Regions from separate parts of the Homo sapiens genome. Here region 2 is linked to region 1. The links are contacts of gene promoters, found by promoter capture Hi-C in blood cells and fetal thymus (Javierre and others, 2016). All regions are on one chromosome and are shown on one strand. Each heading gives the region's core, a stretch centred on a gene start or on the middle of the fragment in contact. The rest is flanking DNA. Distances are from core to core; before and after follow the strand shown.

The links. Contacts are between HindIII fragments. The CHiCAGO score rates a contact against its expected background, and 5 or more counts as called.
Region 2: a contact is called between a fragment that was not itself captured here and the fragment with the promoter of RBM45 in region 1, in 3 of 17 cell types (monocytes, megakaryocytes and naive CD8 T cells). The highest score is 7.3, in monocytes.

What each region holds. Positions count from the first base shown.
Region 1 is chr2:178,110,087-178,113,705 of GRCh38, reverse strand. It overlaps RBM45 (RNA binding motif protein 45), which reads right to left and starts at 1,269. Exons shown (of 10, transcript NM_152945.4): 1 at 860-1,269. The coding sequence starts at 1,159. RefSeq lists an enhancer at 1,064-1,233. The HindIII fragment of the contact is 3,392 bases long and covers 1-1,693 here.
Region 2 is chr2:178,281,860-178,285,484 of GRCh38, reverse strand. It overlaps OSBPL6 (oxysterol binding protein like 6), which reads right to left. Exons shown (of 25, transcript NM_032523.4): 2 at 364-558. Among named protein-coding and RNA genes, the nearest start is that of OSBPL6, 89 kb to the right of the region's middle. The HindIII fragment of the contact is 2,547 bases long and covers 346-2,892 here.

The DNA of each region.
Region 1 (3,619 bases), core at 20-2,519:
GACATCTTGGCTACTACTGATCAATAACAAGGACATTATTGAGGGCTTACCCTGTGTGAGGCACTGTGCTGACAGCACATATTATGTCAAATAACCCTCAAAATGATCCTTCCTGCCATGTGTCATTATCACAATGATTTGGCTCTTCTTAAGGCAGTTTACTTTGGTCTGCTTTCAAAGAAAAGTTGCAGTAACAGAAAGGGTCAAGAACCAAATGTATGCTATTAACACTTTCAGAAACAGAGCTCATTCAAAACAATTTTCCAAAATAACAAAATGTGAAGAATATGTAACAGTGACCGTTTTAAACACCTGCACTTATTCTTTCTGTACATGTATTCTTTCGCCTGGTACTAGGAAAACGTCCAACACCAGAGGTCCCTCCCCAGTTTAAAGTACTTCTGTCAAGTTGTTAACGCCTCATCTGTACCTGAGGAAAAGTAGAGTTTTTCCGTTTTTTATATATGGAAATCTGGGCATCTGAGAGAGGAAGGTCAGAAAAGTACTCAAAGTAGGCTAGGACGAGTTTGGCAGTGAACTCAAGAGCTGGTGGATTAGTGAGGGCGAGGGAGAGGGGAAGCCCAGCCACTGCTGTTCTGTCACCCGGTGGCCGCGGCTGCCGGGTCCGCTCTCGTGGGGCAAACACTCCGCATCCCGTCCCCTTCCCTGCAACCCGGCGCAGCTTCGTGGGAGGGGAGCCTCTCCTCAAAGCAGCCCCTGTCCCCAAGCCAGGTGCTGTCTGGTCAGCTGCCGGGAACGGATGTTCCACTCCTCCCTCACCCCGGCAGAGCAGCAGGTGAAGGGAGGTCCAAGAGGCCCACTCCTTCCCCCGAGGGCACCCCGACCCGGGCACCCGCACCTTGATGGGCTTGGTGTCGTTGGGGCCGAGGCACTGGCCATGCATCTCCTCCATGGCCCTGCAGGCCTGTGAGCTGCGGGCGAACTTGACGAAAGCAATGCCCTTGGACTCCTTGGTGTGCTTGTCCCGCACCACCCAGATGTCCTGGATGTCGCCAAAAGGCGAGAAGCGCTCCCTCAGCACCGACTCAGGTGTGTACTTGCTGATCACAAGGAAGATGCGGCTGTTGGGCGGTTCGTCCAGGCTGTCCACGCCCGGGCGGAAGCCCCCGCCGCTCGCAGAGCTGCCAGCTTCGTCCATGGTGCTCCACCCGAATGCAGGAGCCTCACTGCTCTTTGCTTCTGCGGTGTCTGCCACCGCTGCTGTCTCACACCCAAGCCTTTGCCGGCTCGGTGCTCCGCTTCCGGGAGAAAGAGGAGTCCGGCGCCAGGCGCTGTCCAGCCGCGCAGGATGAGGCCTTCCGGGGAGCGGCCTGCAGCGCCCCCTGGCGACGCGGGGGACCCTGACCCAGTCTAAGTCTCAAATCCTCAAATCCAGCTGAGCCTAGGCCCAAGTTATCAGTTGTGCAATCGTTCCCTGCAGGCAGAACAGCGCTGCCTAATGCACAGGCTTTCCCAACGCTGGCTTTACCCCACCCCTAAGGCCAAGGATTCTTTCCAGTGTTAAAGAAAAAATTATTCATGACACTCGTTAGAGATGGTACAGGAAGGCCGACTTTGACAAAGGGAGCCATGGAGATAGGTCCAGGGACAGCTGCAATGGGGTCTTGCAGTGGGAGAGAGAGATTGGACTGAATTTTGACTCTAATAAGGACAAATTTCTAACCAAGAAGCTTGGTGGGAGGTCAGTGGATGGAAAATTACAAAGAGGGAACATCAGTGTTAAGGAGGATTCTGGCTAAACCAACTTGACAGGATAGTTGCTGAAGGCAGGCCAGGGTGATTGATATCCATGGTAGTCAGACACCAAGAATGAGGATTTTCACTACACTGATTCAGCAGGATTCTTGCTCAAATTGGATTCTACAAGGACAGAAAGCCCAAGATCAAGCCTAGTCAAGCAGAGGACTCAAAGGAGCCTAACTAAGTTTTGGTCAAAGTGGAGAGTTGTCACCATCTTGGTCATAAGCTCAATAGATGATCAATATAGGACAGAGTTCAAACTATATAGCATTAGAGTTGGAAGGAAGCTTTGAGATCATTCAATTTCAGCGTCATTTGTTAGAGATGAGGAAACTGAGGCCTATAGCATAGCCAAAGTAATAGAGATAAAAAGTACGACTAAAACCAGAACTAACTTGGCCAGGCGCAGTGGCTCACGTCTGTGATCCCAGCACTTTGGGAGGCCGAGGCGGGCGGATCACGAGGTCAGGAGATCGAGACCATCCTGGCTAACACGGTGAAACCCCGTCTCTACCAAAAAAATACAAAAAAATTAGTTTGGCGTGGTGGCGGGCACCTGTAGTCCCAGCTACTCAGGAGGCTGAGGCAGGAGAATGGTGTGAACCCAGGAGGCACAGCTTGCAGTGAGCAGAGTTTGCACCACTGCACTCCAGCCTGGGGGATAGAGCGAGACTCCACCTCAAACAACAACAACAACAACAAAAAACCCAGAACTAACTCCATCTGTTGATTTACTCAACTTCTACAAGCAACCCTGGGGTTGGAGGGCAGTGAGGGTGGACTGCTCAGCTGTGGAACTAAGAGAAATCATAGAGTGCAAGCAAAGTGGGAAATGCCTTCTTGTTAACAAGCCTTAGAGGAGAGGTCAGAAACCCAGTAGAAATCCAGAAACAAGGCCTGGATTTAGCAGTGGCATTGGAATGAAGTGAAAGGAATAAACCCCTAAGTAGACCGAGGGCGGAGTTCTTCAAATGAACAAGTTCTGGATGCTAAGACCTAGGTTGCTATGAAGTCAACCAGATAAATACTTATTGTACTCCAACTGTGTGCCAGGCTCTATGCCAGGAGCTAGATATATAATGAGGAACAGGAAAGACATGTCCCGAGGGCTTGTTTTCCCCCACTGTGGAAATCTTACATGTAAATATATAATGCAAAGTAATATCAGATTATGTTACATGGTTTTGCTACTGAATTGTGTGAGCCTGGACAAGTTACTTAATACTTGCAGCTTCGGTTTCATTAACTGTAAAGTAGGAATAATATTACCTACTAAATAGGTAATACATATTATTTTGTGGTTGGATTAGTTAAGCTTGATAGCCGCCTAATAGCTACGCAGGAGCATGACTATCAAGTTTAATTAATTCACCCATTCACTTAATAAGTATTTTTGACTATCTACTATGTGTTAGGCACTGTGTTATACTGAAGGGATGTAGTATTGAACAAAATAATTACTCTTCTTCCCCCACAGAGTTAATCATTTAGCCTTATATAGTTATGCTCATATAAGATAATATATATGGAGTTCATAGTTTAGAGATCAAATGAGATAATATTTGTATAATGGTATAATTGAGATTAATTTTCTTGTTCCCTTTGACTATGGTATCCACTCCCCCACCACTGATATTATACAGTTGTGTGATGACTACTGAGAGTCAGGGATTGTGGGTTGTCACCCTGGATTTAGCACTAAGATTTTTATAATTTCTCCTTGTATTACATTCCATATCTGTAGTGAGGGTTCTGTTTACCCTGAGGCTGAACAACTCTAGGAAGTATCTTTTCTTGACTTTCCATTTCTCTTTTTCCTACCCACAACAATCAAGGTAAATGAAAATAATTTGATAGT
Region 2 (3,625 bases), core at 370-2,869, 170 kb before region 1:
TTGTGGATATGTGTATAAAGAAAGCAAGGATAACATTTTGGCTATTTTAAGGTTTAGGTCTGCACGTTCATTGCTCAAGAAGGGAAAAGCAGTATCATATTTCCACATGATGCCAGACTACATACAGAAAACAGAAAATGGTTACCAAATATTTTCACATTTTTCTACTTCCTATCCTTAAAAAAAAAAGAACTTTTTATTATAAGGATTATGACATATTATTTTAAGATCTGACATACAAATAAGAGATATAAAGAAACACCTTCCTGTGACTTTGTGGTGTCCCACTAATCTGTTGCTATTATTAAGCGCTGCCTAACCTAACCCTGCTTTTGGTTTTAAGCTTGTGTTCTTCTAACTCACCTTGCACCTTGGAGTCAAAGTCTTCCAAGTCAGCTTTATGGTCAAAGCTGTTTCACAGTGATTTATCCTCAGATGCCTGCAGCTTTTCTCCTTGGGACATGATATGTCTTTGACCTTGCTGGGGCTATCTGGGTAAATTATAGGGGTGGCTCCTTAATATCCTTCTGTTGCTGTTTTCCCAGCAAGTGGCAGAACCTGAAAAAGAGAGATTACAGTCATATAGTACATCTTTACAAAACTTTCGTGAGCCTCTCACGGGGACTGCCTATGGCCAATCAGAAAATTCCTCCCAATTTATCTTTTGAACAGGAAGTTCATATGGGTACATGCCTCAGCTTTTTATCTCCTTTGTTCAGTTTTATGTAACCTCAAAGACGTAACCACTGACCTTCTCAGTAATCAGTAACATTCATAATTTACATCTCACCCAGAGCTTGGAGTATGAAAACTCTCAAGTGATATAGCAAATATTTCCTAAAAGGGGACAAAATATATTCTCCAGGACCACATTTAGCCCTCCAATTAAATATAAACCTCAACAGGGCTTTTTTGTTTGTTTGTTTTGTTTTGAGACAGAGTCTCGCTGCAATGCCCAGGGTGGAGTGCAATGGTGTGATCTCGGCTCACTGCAACCTCTGCCTCCTGGGTTCAAGTGATTCTCCTGCCTCAGCCTCCTGAGTAGCTGGGATTACAGGCACACGCCATCATGCCCAGCTAATTTTTTTATTTTTAGTAGAGATGGAGTTTCACCATGTTGGCCAGGCTGGTCTCGAACTCCTGACCTTGGATGATCTGCCTGCCTCGGCCTCCCAAAGGGCTGGGATTACAGGCTGAGCCACCATGCCTGGCCCAATAGAGTTTTTAAAAATAGTAAGTATGAAGTGGTTTCATCATACATGCACATAGATGTACAATCTCTAATGCCCTGAAAAAAACGCATGAACAGTCTCTAATTTGCTGTAGAAGAGAACTGTAGCCAAACTCCTAGAACAATCCTCTAGCAAGAAGAACAGACTCTATACATACTATAAAAGAATATAGTTTTTAACTTGACATAATTTCTCAGAAAGCAAAGAAACAGTATGCTATGGTTTGGATATAATTTGGCCTCACCAAGTCTCATGTTGAAATATGATCCCCGGTGGTGAAGGTGAGGCCTGGTGGGAGGTGTCTGGGTCACAGGAGCGGATCCCACATGAATAGCTTGGTACCATTCTGAGGGGTGAATTCTCACTTTTATATCCCACAAGAACTGATTGCTGAAAAAGAACCTGGGACTCCTTTTCTCTCTCTCTCTTGCTTCCTCTGTCACCATGTGATCTCTGCATAACAGCTCTCCTTCATCTTCTGCCACGAATGGAAGCAGCCTGAGGCCCTCACCAGAAGCAGATGCTAGCACCGTGCTTCTTATACAGCCTGCAGAACCATGAGCCAAATAAACCTCTTTTCTTTACAAATTACCCACCCTCAGGTATTCCTTTATGACAACACAAATGGACCAAAACACAGTATTTTTACAAGAGAATAAATTCATCATAAGATAAGAGAAAAATGTGACAAGTAATCCAAAGAAGTTACTCTCTGATCCTGAAACATGACAGACGTTTTTATCCTTCCAGCCATAAACCTCTCTAGCAGGCTCCTTTATTCACAAGCCAGCTTTAAAAATCACTCCCTGGGTTTGACTTTTTCAAGCCTATCCTTTCACTCTGTTTTAGTTTTCCTTTTTTTTTTTTACTTATTGAGAATGGGAAAAATGCACACACAAGCACATGTATACATACATACATATTCTAAGGCTACAACTTACTGAAACTGCAGAAGATTTATGTTTGGCCAGCATCCAATGCCATGATTGCCCCCTTAAGTACCATCTTTCTGCAAAAGTTTTTGTTCTAACTCCCCTTCCACTTCTTTAAATAACATTTTTAAAAAAAATTCTACTGTGTTGTAAGACGATTCCGTGTACCTTGTAAGTCCTGAGTAAAATTTAATTGTTGATTATGATGATGACCTTGAATACTAAGGCTAAGATCCATCAGAATTCTTTTTGTATGCTCAGCATTGCATCTTTTTATTTTCTGCACACTACTCAGTCTATGCTCTTTAATCTCATTTAATTACAGGCAGATGGAATATGAATTGTCAGCTATAGAAACTCCCCTAGCAGGCCAGGCGCAGTGGCTCACACCTGTAATCCCAGCACTTTGGGAAGCCAAGGTGGGTGAATCACCTGAGGTCAGGAGATCGAGACCAGCTTGGCCAACATGGTGAAACCCCATCTCTACTAAAAATACAAAAAATTAGCTGGGCATGGTGGCAGGCACCTATAATCCCAGCTACTTAGGAGGCTGAGGCAGGAGAATCGCTTGAAACCGGGAGGTAGAAATTGAAGTGAGCTGAGATCATGCCATTGCAGTCCAGCCTGGGCAACAAGAGCGAAACTCTGTCTAAAAACAAAAAACAAAAAGCAGAAACTCCCTTAGCCATCTCTTCCTTCCTCCTTCCTATGATGAACTCTGTCAAGCTTTGGAAACAGAGAAGACACTGATAAAGAGGAAAAAGAAAAGGCAAGCTAAAGAGTCCCCTGTGCTATCCTGCAGCTCTTTTTGCTCATTCACCCCCGTTCCTCTGTCCTAGTCTGATTCTCCACAAGTTCTTACCATTCTAAAATAACAAGTGGGAAGGTAAACCAGAAGAGAGGACCAAGGGGGTAAGATTAAGGCTTCCTTTCCTTCCCGCTGTTTCCTCCACTAAGCAGCAGCAGAGGGGAGGGATAAGACAAGTTGAATCTCACTAACCATATCTAAGGAATTCCTCCGCCCTCTCCCATCGCATCACATATGCTGTGTGTGTGTGTCCTTGGCTACCTGCCTATGTAAATAAAACCTTAGCCCAAGGAGCATCCATCTACTTCCTTCTTCTTTCGCCATAGTCTTTGCCAATACAGCCTTCAAAATCCAGCACAAAACTGCAACTCCCAACTCCTTCACTGATCTTTCCAGTTAGGAAGAAGAAGCTGCTCAGTACTTTTGGTCAGTTCTATTTGTGTCAGGCTGTCCTGGTCTTACAGTTTTATGTGTGAACTGTGTCTCCTATACCAGACTGTGTGTACTCCGGGAAGCAGGGACCGGACCTTAATTCTGTGCAAACAATTTTTTTCCTTTTAAGTTCTGGGGTACATGTGCAGGATGTACATGTTTGTTACACAGGTAAATGTGTGCCACGGTGGTTTGCTGCACCTATCAACCCGTCACCTAGG